Linked DNA regions of Homo sapiens: regions 2, 3 and 4 are each linked to region 1. The links are contacts of gene promoters, found by promoter capture Hi-C in blood cells and fetal thymus (Javierre and others, 2016). All regions are on one chromosome and are shown on one strand. Each heading gives the region's core, a stretch centred on a gene start or on the middle of the fragment in contact. The rest is flanking DNA. Distances are from core to core; before and after follow the strand shown.

Region 1 (3,181 bases), core at 493-2,992:
CTCCTGACCTTGTGATCCACCCGCCTCGGCCTCCCAAAGTGCTGGGATTACAGGCATGAGCCACCGCACCTGGACTGTTCTTGACTTTTATTCATTATTTTACTTAGGGTTTTATTATATTCTTTTTTATTTGTAAGAGCTATTTACGTATAACAGATACTGATTCTGTGTCATATGTCTCCTGGTTTGTTATGTCTTTAATTTTACATGGTGTCAGTGGAGAAGTGTGTTCCTTCCATTATGTCCTTTTTTTTTTTTGCTAAGTTTATTTCAGGGAACTTTATTCAGATCTCTTTCTGATTCTGTTTTTTGGTATAAGAAAACTTAAAAGATTTGCCTGGGCAGGGAATTTTTATATAATGTCTGAATTTAAAGCAATTAGCATATCTGAAGAAGTGTATGCATTTTTTACAAGTTCTACGTTAAAAGGAGTTCCAAAAATGAACTCACACAGGAATAAAGAAATCCATCTTATACCTCATCCTCTTGGAGATACTCAGACATATTACAAGAGAAACCACGCATCTGTCTTTTAGCATATACCAAAAAGCTCGTGAAACCTGGAATACAGCTTTGGAGCAATATACACCTAGATAATAATAGTACTTATTTATTTAGTTACTTCTTCACTTTAGAAAATTTTAAGCATATGTACAAGTAGAGAGAATAGTATAATGAACCCCCATGAGGTACCCATATCCAGCTTCAACTATTATCAACTCATGGTCAGTCTTACTTCAACTATACCCTCAACCACTTTTGAAGCAAATCCAAAATACTATGTCACTTCACCTGTCAATATGCTTGTAACACCATAGTATTGATATATCTTGTTCTTGTTTTAGATCTGGGATTCCTACTTTTACCTCGCAGTCATTTTTATAAACCAGTTGTGTCTGCAGTTGGAGATGTTCACACCTTCCAAGAAGAAAAAGGTGTTAGAAAAGTAAGTATCAGTGTATAATCAGGTGAGAAATGTTGCCTCTTAAAGAGTATTTAGTTCAAATGATTCATAAATCAGAATGCGCATAACTGGAAATCACACAGTGAAGAACCAGTGACCAAGGGGTCAAGAAGCAGTCTTTTCTGGATGTTTTGATATTTCAAACATGTTTGCACATTGTTTTGACCTGGCTCTTTCAGGATTCAAAATTTCTATAGATGCAAAAAATTATGAAACAGATCTCTTTTACTAAAAGGTTTACACCAGAATTTGACTTAGAGGCATCGTGACATGTATATTAAATGTCTTTAATTAAAAACTCCTTGCCTTGTAATTCAGAATGATAGATTGTATCCTAAAGACACACAAATACTTCCTTGTTCTGGAGGCATTGTATCAGGTTTGGTTTTTTGTTCTATTTCAGGTATGGTGACATGCGGGTAACAATGGGTTGTGAAATTTTCAGCATGTGGCAAAACCTAGGTAAGTGAGGAAAAGAGAAGCCACATCTACTATACAGCTCCTCGCTGTACCTTGAAGTGTACAAATGAAGAAAGGCAATTTACCAGTGACACCATGTGAAACCAAATGTCTAAATCAATAAACATCTATAGAAAGTAATTGACACTTTGGCATTGAATGAGGTTACAACAAATTCTTTAAATTGGTCTCTAAGAAAAGTCACCTTACCTTTGTGTGTTTCATTATTAATTAACGATAAATTTTATAATCTAGCATTGCTCCAACATTACACATATTTCCAGCGATGAGGCAACCTTTCAGAATTTGGAACTGTAACAACTCAAAATTTCTAGAACTCTGAGTTGAAGCTATGAATCATAATAAATTTAGGTTAAACTTCATGAAACATTGACTTGAACGTCACTACTCTTAAAAACTTGAGACCATTGTCCTATATCATAAAGAGTATAGCCAAAGGATTTTAAAAGCATCTGCAGTTGCTAAGAAACTGTTGGATCCAATTTTGTTAATCTGCTATAGCAGATAGAGTATATTATTCCAGAAAATTGATGGTACAGATCTGGTTGCATAGAAAACAGTAATATTTGGAAAACAAATTGTTTTAAAATTCATTGGCATAGGGTCCCTTTCTAGAGATTTATAAGTTATTTCATTTGGTATGTTAACTATGCAGGTTTTTAGTATTCATTTACTATTACTGCATCTTAATGCTCCTCTTTGATTTATTAAAATGATTGACCTATTTGAGTTGAATACGTAATGACCTGAAAATATCTTTTCTCTTGGGCTTATCCAAGTACAACTTGGAGATTGGAAGGATTTATTTTCTGTGAATGAAAATAGAACCATTATTGTTTTACTTCCACTCATGTTAACAGACTGATTTTTGACCAGGATCATTACAGGGTGATTTTTTTTTAATAGGGTATGTATATTCCTCAAATATACATAACAACTTGAGGGAGCCTTGGTATATATAATTAAGCCCAGTGTTCAATGCTTGCTGGTGATTTCAGAAAAAATAAAAAATAAAAAAAAATAATGAAGCTGGGAGCAATGGCTCATGCCTGTAATCCCAGCACTTTGGGAGCCTGGAGCGGGCAGATCACTTGAGGTCAGGAGTTTGAGACTAGCCTGGCCAACATGGTGAAACCCTGTCTTTACTAAAAATACAAAAATTAGCCAGGCGTGGTGGGGGGGTGCCTGTAATCTCAGCTACTTGGGAGGCTGAGGCAGGAGAATCACTTGAACCTGGGAGGTGGAGGTTGCAGTGAACCAAGATCGCTCCATTGCACTCCATCAGCCTGGGTGACAGAGTGAGACTCTGACTCAAAAAAAAAAAAAAAAGAGTTATCATCTTGAAAACAACCTTCAACTATGTAAGGCCAGCCAGAAGATATCATGGTCTGTCTTTAGTTGCAGCTCAAAAATAGTTTTCTTATTTGGAGACTGCTCTTCTTAGTCTTCAGTGTTTTCAGGTTTCATTGATTCTTTGTGTCCTTGTTTTTCCTAAAGAAGATCAAGGCCCTTGTAGTGTCCATATTGCATTCGACATTAATTTAGCAAGATGTTTTTGAAAGAATGCTGCATTGAATCTGTTTGAATGCACTTGTGGTTGTGTAAGCTCTTTTCTGGGCTCAAATTATGAGAGCAGGACAGATTCTGTTCGGTTACAAGAATGTTAAAAAAGAATGACCAGTTTCTGTTCTAGATACATCTCAGCATTGCCATCTATGGTTATTTCCACATAAACCT
Region 2 (3,181 bases), core at 223-2,722, 620 kb before region 1:
AGCAGAGTCCTGTTTCTCAAGAGGAGGAAAAAGTCCTGAACTGTTATGCTGAATTATCAAATTTGAATTTTGTTACCACATATTTATATATTGAGACCAATCAATCTTAATTCAAAATATATAATATGACATATAGTTAAAACAATAGTATATGTCTTCGTATAATAATTTCTAGCCAAAAGAGCAAGACAGAAACCTCCTAGTCTAGCCTTAAGCTTCCTTAGCTCCCTTTGTGCCCTGTAAAGCACTAATGGTGTCAGTAGCTTTCTGGCCACAACAGGATACACAGGATACTGGTAGTAACAGCAATACGCTCGAAAAATAATAAGCAGAAAATGTTCTAGGATCAAGGACACATGAAGAAAAGAAGGTGGGAGGGAGGGGAGGAGAAGGATGAGGCAAGAAAGAAGAAGAAAGGAGGAGCTCAAAGGAATGGTCCTTCCACTCTCACTGGCCTTTGGGGAGCTTCTGTATCAATTAGCTGGGGAACACGGTGCTGACCTAGGTGAAACATGATGCTGGGAGAATCTTCTACATCAGGCCCCAGGCTGTATGAGTACCCCAGGCCACTTCTGGCGGAGTAGCAAACTGCAGTAGGTGATCCTTCTGGCTCCCTTTAGTCTAGTCCACCCACTTGGTCAACCCCAAAATGAACAGAGATAGAAAGGGGATGAAAAGTAGTTAGGAGTGAACATATGTGTGGAAGAGAAGCAGAGAATTAGCCCCATTCCTGGACATGGGCTCACGAAGGTTTATTTTGGGTAGGCCAGATGTGAAAGACTTCTCTATTTTCTAGTGTTCCCAGGGCAACAAAAATCAGGGCTCATGTCATTTGTGATGAAAAGGAAGTTTAGACTTTTACCAGGTTCTCCTTCCTAAGTGCTTCTGAAAATCCCCAAGGAATGCTTACCTGTTCCACACATCTTCCCTAGCTACTGCTTGTCCCTTCAGCTAAGAGCTAGACTGCTGCTCCAGTCTTCAGCAGGCCACCCCTGGCCATCTCAGAACCACCTTCCAGATTGTTGCCAGGCTTCCCTATCTGCTGTATTCCCGGCACTGACACATGCCCATCCCTGAATCCCTGAAGTACCACAACAATCAGGAGGCTTGGGATAACAGAAGGGAATTATGATATAGAAAACAGCATTTTCCTAAAAAAGAATTGGGCTCCCAAATCCTTCACCTGCCTCAGGTTGCATCTTTTCTACGTTGCTGATTACAATTTTTTGCTTTCCTTGGCTCCTAACTCCCTCTGTGGAATGAGAGTGGGCAGCTCCAAGTCCTTTTATCCAAGAGAAGAAGCCCTTAGGGCTCTGCAGGTGCTGTCAACCCCACCATACCTCTGATTTGTATCTGCCAACATGGAACAGACATGGAGAGGATAAAGAAGTAGGAAGAAGCTGAGAAGAAGGGAGATGAGAAAGTGCTGACTGAAACATCAGCACTATGCTCTATGGCTCAGAAGTGTCTTCTAATAGTAACATTCTATATTTTATTTATATAACAACTTTTCTCATGAGTTATGCTCTTATAAGAAAAACTGAAGGACTATCAATAGAAAACTTAACCAAGCTGCAATTTTTGTAACATGAGGTTGCAGAGTATATTCTTTTTTAGGAAGATGCTAGGCCTGCCTTATCCCGAAAGAAAAAAGAATATGCCTTGTTTATTGAAATTGCTAAAATATTAAATTGATATCATGAGTCCCATTTTAGTGTGTCTGAGTGAGAATCTGTTGAAGCAGACGGGACATTATGGGAAGAAATCTTACAAAGTAAAATTAGATTTTTCATACACAGAGTAGCAGCTGTTCAGATTGCAGGAAAATCCTTAGAAGCCATTTATCAGGTGGCAATGTGGTGAACAACAAAGACAACTCTTCTTTCAGATGTGAGAATGGTCCAGCACACCTCTGTGACTGCAGATGACAGCATGCTGTGTTCCAAATATTGGAACTATTGAATAACTGATGTTCAAAGATTTATACATCTGAATGAACATTCTAGAGTGCAAATTGCCTTTGACTTAACGTGACCAAAAACAGAATTCTAAAGTGTAATCACATGCTGGATGTGCCCAACGACTATGATACAGAGTGATGTGTGCATAGGCCAGTGGTTTCTTTAGGTACAAGACATGCCAAACACAACTGAATAGCCAGGTTTGAGATTAGGCAAGTGTTTTAAAGTAGAAAAAGCCACAATTGGGATAAAAACAAAGCAAGAATATGGGAGACAAACAAGAAAGTACAACGGAGTAATTGCAACTAAGGCAACTCAATTGGTAGATAGGTCTAAGAACCAAAGAGTTCAAACATTTGTAAATTATTTTCCTGCTTTTGGACAGACAGGTCAAAGTTACTTTTCTGAACTAGAAAGATTTGTAGGGAGATGAATTTTAGAGGCAGTAAAGGGCCACCCCAAAGTAAAACTGTCAAGTTAATAAAGTCTGTTGTCATGATGACAATAGCTTTTGAGAAGAGGATTGACATGATGTCAACGTTTTGTTTTGAGGAAGATTAATCTACTGGTAATAAGAAAGATGACTTGAAAGGGGACGGGCAGGGTGGATTCAGGTTTTGTGTGTCTGAAGCTAATACCAGCTTTAAAAGGGTAGGGGCTCTGTTTAAGAAAAAGAATACAGATTCAAGTATACAAAATTTGCTAGGGCCCTTCCCAGAGCCTTTGAATGGCTTCATGCAAGGAAAGGAGTCTGAAGGTTAAGCTTCCTTACCTTCGATAAGCCACCTCATAAGCAGATGATAGCTAAGCCACTAACAGTGTCACCCTCATCTTGCCAGCCACCCAAGTGAGACCCCCAGGAGTCATCTTTTATCCTTCATCCTATTTCCTCTTCAGTCACCAAGCCATGCCCATTTAATTTCCTAAGTATTTCTCAAGTTCATTTATTTCTTCATTCTTCATTCCAGTACCTTAGATCTACCTGTCACTGCCTCTTAACTACTCCATTGCAAATAGCTTTTCCAAACTCGTTCCCTGTTTCCACCCTGTTTACCTCCTAGAAACCTATCCTTCACCCAGCCGCTCAGAATACTCTATCTATGGGTAGATCTGATAATCTCACACTTCTGGTTAATACTCTTCATTAAAGCTTCATCAGGAGAAGGCCCAAGCCTCCATAGTATTATAAGCAAAGCCTGTGTGATCTCACCCCTTTGTCA
Region 3 (3,181 bases), core at 284-2,783, 600 kb before region 1:
TACTAAAATTAGGAAATCAAGCAAGCCCATTTCTAAGACCCTTTCTTCAGTACTTTTCTATACTCTAGGAATCTTTGGAACTGAGAGAAAATTAGCATTTAAGAGTAATTTATAATGACTTTAGTAGAGAATGGAGGTAATAAGGCGAAGGTCAAGGACACGAGTCTAGTTTAGAACAAATTTTGTTAAAATCAGACATCCATCACAGTCCCATCTAACCAGCAGTGGCATACTCTTGATCATGTGAAATCTGAGAAAAAAAGTAAAACTATATCAGCAAAACTGCTCCCAAATGGAGGGGAAAAAGCCAATTCAAATGTATATACCAATGATAATATCTAAAGACCATATTGTCAGTATATATCTAAATAAATTAAATGAATTGATGCCTTTTTAATGTTTAAGTGTTTTCTCTCCTATTTTGCACGTTTCCCTGATTTGATGAAGTCCTAGAAGATTAAAGTGCATGTTAATGCCACATCCCAAAAGAACCTCTGGCATTCAAACTTTCAAGTGCAGACAATCTAGTCACACAGAACCGTTGTTTGTCTCATTCTGTGTTCTAATGAAGAGCAAACACTGGCTTGTGAAACTCTTTTTCATTATCGGAAACCAGATAAGCCAATGGGGGAAACACACCATTGTGCTTTCCTTTTTATATCCATGCCATTGCAATATACACCCAAACTCCAAGTTGGGGCATTTGTCTATGATTGCCTGGATTTTTCTACTTGAACAAATCCAAGTTGGTTTTTGAATGTGTGAGCAACAGCAACTTGCTTTTCCTGTTGTTTTCCTTTTCCTCACTTCACTTCTTCTTCACTTCACTTAAACACCTTTGTCTTAGTCAATTGGGGCTACTATAACAATATACCATAGACTGGGTGACTTAAACAACAAACATTTATTTCTCACAGTTCTGGAAGCTGGGAAGTCCAAGGTCAAGGTGCCAGCTGCTTGGGTTCTGGTGAGGGCCCTCTTTTGGGCTTACAGATGGCTGCCTTCTTGCGGCATCCTCATAGTGAAGAGAGAGAGAAGTCCGTGGTCTCTTCTTCCTCTTATAAGGGCACTAATCCCATTCATGAGGCTTCACCCTCATTACTTCCCAAGGGCCCCACCCACTAATACCATCACATTTAGGGGTTAGGGCTTCACGATATGAATTTTGCAGGAGACATAAACTTTCAGTCTACAGCACCCACCAGAGGAGTTTTAACATATTTAAGTTCTACTTTTCCCCTCTATTGCTTAATTTATTGTATTTCTCTTTTCTTTCTGTTGAAAGAAGAATCTGTGTTGAGCAGGCTGCCAGATTATTCCAGAGAATTGATTGAAGATATTTCCTCGGGAAGACTTTCTTGGCAGATAGACAAAATGCATCCTGTATGTTTCTGCAGCAGCCCATAGAGTGCAGCACCGCACTACTCGCTCCCTCCCAGGACGAAACTCTATGAGTTGTCAAATTAATTTCTTCTTTCTAAAATGCATAACACAGTCCTTTCTGGGCTTCTATCTGTTCAAGAATTTAGAACCAGAACTTTAGACAAAGGGATTTTAATTGCATGCTGATAAAATGTCAAAACTATTGTGCATAAAGTAACTGTGCTTTTTTATTTTTTTGTACAATGCCTCAAGGATTATGAGAGAGATTTGCCCCTGTGAGTGAAATCCATTTTGTAACTCATCAGAAAATCTTTAACCTATGAGCTAATTCTTATAATCTCCTCTATAAGCCATTACACTGTGTCTTTCCACCTTCTAGATCGCACAGTTATACAATAAGTTAAAATGAGTGGTCTGCAAATTTGGTTAACCCATTGCTAACTTCAAGTAGTGATTTTTATCTCCCTCTGAAAATCTGAATGATGAATAAGGACTGTTGCTTGTTTGGAGAAGTTGCTTATTTCACAGGACACAGCTGTTACGCCTCATGTTAAACTGTGAAGAGCTGCATCAGAAGGTCACCTTCCCGAACTGTCCTTCCTACTTTAAAAAGAAAATACCCAGAGAAGACAACAAGGATGTGGCTTGACTTTCAAGGCCATCCAGTGAGATAAAAGAGTTTCTCCAGGTGATGGTGGGAGTTTTCAACCAAGGCATAGGTGTTACCATTGGTACCCAGAATAGTTGGGGGGGTTGGGGGGCAACGCTGCTGGGTTTACAGAACAATTGCTAAGGCACCAGCAGGATACCTAGAAATACACACTCATCTTCCCAAAGACAAGTTTTTATTTCTATCACAGACACAATCTCTGAGGCAGCGATTAGTGAGAAGTAAAATTCAAAAAAACTAAGGCATTTTTCATTGTCTTTAGTATTTAAGAAAAAGGGTCCCCAAATATTTCCATTTGAGATGACAAAGTGCTCTTCAGTCATTTAGCTTACTCTTCAGTTCAGATGACTTATCATCTTGATTTCAGAGAGTTCATATATGTCTGTTTTAAAAAACTGGTTCAAAAAGTCTGAAGTTACGAAACTAAACCAAATATGCATTACTCTCATGTCAAATTACAAGCTCTTAGCTGCTGGGATTTTTTCACATGCAGCCTGGAGCCCTTGAAAACCTCTGTTTTCTGTTAGACTCTCCAGGGTACACAGAAGTTGCCTCATTATTTTAGTTAATGGTGACTGCAAATAAGCCCCCCAAGTCATTTAACTATGTGCTTACCACTGCTTTAAAAGAACCCCAAGTTAGGTCCTCATGTAGGTAAAGGAGCTCCCTTCACATATATGTGTTCCTAAACTTGTCAAAGATTGTAGCAAAGCAATTTAAAGCTAAGATAAGGGTAACTCTCAATACAAGATTATTTTGAAAATGCTTAAACAAGCATTTTTATTGAAGTCTAGCATACATACAGAAAAGTATAAAAATATTAAGAGTATAGTTCAGTGAAGAAATACTATGAAGGAAATGGATCAAGGAAGACTTTACTGAAGGAGGTGTCAGGCTACAATGAAATGTTTTAGGGGGAAAAGGAGGCTGGTGAAGGGACTGCCATGAGACCAAAGTAAGAAACTTGACACATGTCCCCCAGAGTTTGAAGAACACAGAGATTGTTACCTGATTCTCGCCCAAAAGGGTGTGAACCGAGGGACTGTATGGAGCTGCCAGAGCAAGAACAGAGAACTATGGCTGAGCCAGCAGCATTCCTCCCAATGGTGGACAAGGGTGTTTGCTTTC
Region 4 (3,181 bases), core at 470-2,969, 540 kb before region 1:
TCTCTCACTCCCACCTTGTCCCCATGTATCACTCAGCACCAGCTTCCAGCACGCCACCTTCTAGATCCCACACAGCAAAGTGCAGTCTGGCTCCTTACCTGGCTTTTGATTCATGGGCAGCACCCTTCTGGGACTCTTGTGAATCAAATTCTCCCAACCCCATGAGATGGCCCCACAAATCTATTGTATAATAGAGGGGAGATGAAGAAGAGACCAAATGCAATGTTTGCTTATGGCACACAAGACTATTTCCAGCTGATAGCCTGACATTCCCCTGTCTTCTTTTCTTTGGGGTTGCTAAATTTGAAACCGCATTGGCAGCAGACCTATTAGTTTAGACATATACAGTGGACTGGGTAAGTATGGGGTGATAGTTAAGCTGAGACCTGGATGATAGGAAGACATTACTGTAAAGAGGAGGGGCAAGAATATACAGAGAGAAAAACATGCAAAAACACTGAGGCAGAGAAAAGTGCAGTCTCCTGTCCAAGGAGCAGAAGGAGGCCTGGTTGCCTGGGGAATAGTGGGCACTCCAGAAAATGGCATGGGACAAGATGGAAGATATGTGGGTCATGTAGAGGCCGGGCATAGTGGTTCATACCTGTAATCCCAGCATTTTAGGAGGCCAAGATGGGTGGATCACTTGAGGCCAGGAGTTCGAGACCAGCCTGGCCAACATGGCGAAATCCAGTCTCTATCAAAATTACAAAAATTAGCTCAGCATGGTTGCGCATGCCTGTAATCCCAGCTACTCAGGAGGCTGAAGTGGGACAATCGCTTGAATCAGGGAGATGGAGGTTGCAGTGAGCCGAGATCGCACCACTGCACTCCAGCCTGGATAACACAGCGAGACTCTGTCTCAAAAAAGAAGAAAAAGAAAGTTTAGACTTGATTCCATGTTCAACTGGAAGCCATTTGTATCAGCTGGGAAGCTTTTATTGTGAGTAATAGAAACTCCACTTAAAAAGTTCAAATAATACAAGGGGAGTTTATGGCCCGACTAAATGAGAAATCCAGAGGAGGACAGCTCTCAGGTGAGGGCTCTGGCTCCTTCCTCAGAAATTATCTTGATTTTGCTCTTCTCTGAAAGTTCTTGGGCTAGTTTCTCTCAACGCCACTTGACGGCTTTGGCAGCAACTAGGGTACGGGTTTGTTTTTTCATAAGGAAAGGGAGTCTTAGTTTCTCTGAGTCATTTAGCAGAAATCTTCAGCTTCTCCCTGATTGGAGCAACCTGGACTGGCCACAGTGACCCAGGCTTGCTATGCACCTTTGACTTGGGTTTAGTTACTGCCCATCTCTAATCCAATAAGCCAGTCTGCAGTGAGGGTGAAGTTATTACTCTAGTCAGCACTCCCCTCCCCCTGGAGGTAGGGCTGGGGTCAATTCCAAATGGCATGGCTGTTACTTAATGAGGGTAGAGTGGCTCCCCAAAGAATTGGAAAACTATAAGGAAAGAAAGAAAGGAGAATGGATGCTGGGTAAGTAACCGAGAAGGTCCGTTACACCATGTGAGGATTTTTTTTTTTTTTTTTGAGATGGAGTCTCACTCTGTCACCCAGGCTGGAGTGCAGTGGCACAATCTCAATTCACTGCAGCCTCCACCTCCGGGGTTCAAGTGATCCTCCCACCTCTGCCTCTCAAGTAGCTGGGATTACAAGTGTGCACCACCATGCCCAGCTAATTTTATTATTTTTGGTAGAGACGGGGTTTCACCATGTTGGCCAGGCTGGTCTCCAACTCCATGGGAGGACTTTTAAAAATCCACTCTAGCTGTTACGAAGGAACACACTGGAGGGTCCAGAGAGGAAGGAGGGAGGCCAGTTAGGAAACTGTTATAGTAGTTCAGATAACAGACCATGGTGGCAGGGACTGAGATGTGTTTGGAGATAGAACTGAAAGGACTTGGTGACTGACCTGACGAGGGAGGAGGCAGTTTTGGCAGACTGTGAGGAGTCTCAAATGCCAGTCTTTGGAGTTTTTGTCTTTTAGGCAATGATGGAGGTGTAAGAGTGGGTTGTTTTTTTTGTGACAGTAAGAGATTAATAATGTTTGCTTTTTACTTTCACTTTCTCCCCCTCCTTTAGAATTAAAAAGAATTTATAAACAATTTACTACAGCATACTCTTTTTCTCTTCTGTTTCCAAATGAATAAAACACCAGTATCTATGAACTTAACTAGAGTTTGATTTCCTGCTCACTCTGTAACCAAGTCAATTGACTGGGAATATCCTCAAAAATTGTTTTTTTGCAGTCTAATTTTATAAGGCAAAAAGAGCATAGCTTCACTTACATCTTAGAACATTGTGAAGTCAATATTAACTTCGCTGAATGTTTCAGTCTGAATTTAATGTGCTTATGATGCCACTGCAGATTGCTATCATCAGGAATCGAACATGCTTTAGCCTTTCAATATATCAATTATAAGGCATAAGAGTTCAACTGCAGCAGTTTAATCCTTTAACTACCCATCATCTAAAACTTACTGAAGGAGTTGAATTAAGCTTCAAGGATGCAGGGTGGCTATTTTTGCAGACTAAGCAAACAATAGTTGAAATTTGATGCCCTTGATGGAAATGGATGGAGTCTGTCAATTCTGCATATACATTCAGCAAAGTACTGACATTAAAACATTTATTCTTGTTCTGAGTGCATGTTCTACTCCATCCTCTCAAAGAATTGCTTTTCCTCCATTCATTAAAAAAGCTCAGGACTTGGCTTTGTCTCATTTTAAATTCCCATATATTATATTGTTGGATGTCACTTTGTTGTGCTTTTTTCTTTTGGCAGGTCCTCATCTCTCTGATCCTGTTTCCCATCGTCTCTTTACCCTTGATGAAGATAAAATTCCTGGCTAGACACCTTGTAAGATTGTATCTTCATTGTCAAGTGAGATAGAAAAGCTGTGAGGACCACTGAGCCTTACATAAAATGTTTTCTTCTGTGGTGACACAACACCTAGATTTGTAGCAGTTACTGTCATGATCTGCCAGTTCTTTTTTGCAATAACAGTTTCTCAGTCTTTGTGTGAGGGCCTTCCCCTACCTTCAGAGGATGCTAAATCAATGTGTGAGGCAAGCTGGAAGTGCCAGGGAATTAATACTGCCCCTGGGAACAGCCCTCAACCCATGACCAATGGGAGTGGGTGAATGGCCTAGCTTTTTTGCCCCTTGGTGGTGGTAG

Evidence for each region. The method cuts DNA at HindIII sites, captures the fragments that hold promoters and counts their contacts. A CHiCAGO score of 5 or more calls a contact.
Region 2: a contact is called between a fragment that was not itself captured here and the fragment with the promoter of DOCK4-AS1 in region 1, in 3 of 17 cell types (endothelial precursors, M1 macrophages and M0 macrophages). The highest score is 12.4, in endothelial precursors.
Region 3: a contact is called between a fragment that was not itself captured here and the fragment with the promoter of DOCK4-AS1 in region 1, in 3 of 17 cell types (endothelial precursors, M0 macrophages and M1 macrophages). The highest score is 10.3, in endothelial precursors.
Region 4: a fragment that was not itself captured here is called in contact with the fragment with the promoter of DOCK4-AS1 in region 1 in 2 of 17 cell types (M1 macrophages and M0 macrophages); the score reaches 6.6 in M1 macrophages.

What each region holds. Positions count from the first base shown.
Region 1 is chr7:111,807,066-111,810,246 of GRCh38, reverse strand. It overlaps DOCK4-AS1 (DOCK4 antisense RNA 1), which reads right to left and starts at 1,742. Exons shown (of 2, transcript NR_103806.1): 1 at 1,634-1,742. It overlaps DOCK4 (dedicator of cytokinesis 4), which reads left to right. Exons shown (of 53, transcript NM_001363540.2): 29 at 846-946; 30 at 1,368-1,426. The HindIII fragment of the contact is 9,376 bases long and covers 1-3,181 here.
Region 2 is chr7:112,428,209-112,431,389 of GRCh38, reverse strand. LOC105375457 (a long non-coding RNA gene) reads left to right here. Exons shown (of 3, transcript XR_001745325.2): 3 at 1-3,181. It also overlaps a transcript of IFRD1 not described here. Among named protein-coding and RNA genes, the nearest start is that of IFRD1, 21 kb to the left of the region's middle. The HindIII fragment of the contact is 2,509 bases long and covers 218-2,726 here.
Region 3 is chr7:112,409,605-112,412,785 of GRCh38, reverse strand. No RefSeq gene overlaps it. Among named protein-coding and RNA genes, the nearest start is that of IFRD1, 39 kb to the left of the region's middle. The HindIII fragment of the contact is 5,468 bases long and covers 1-3,181 here.
Region 4 is chr7:112,350,146-112,353,326 of GRCh38, reverse strand. It overlaps ZNF277-AS1 (ZNF277 antisense RNA 1), which reads left to right and starts at 2,786. Exons shown (of 3, transcript NR_186626.1): 1 at 2,786-2,863. The HindIII fragment of the contact is 1,570 bases long and covers 935-2,504 here.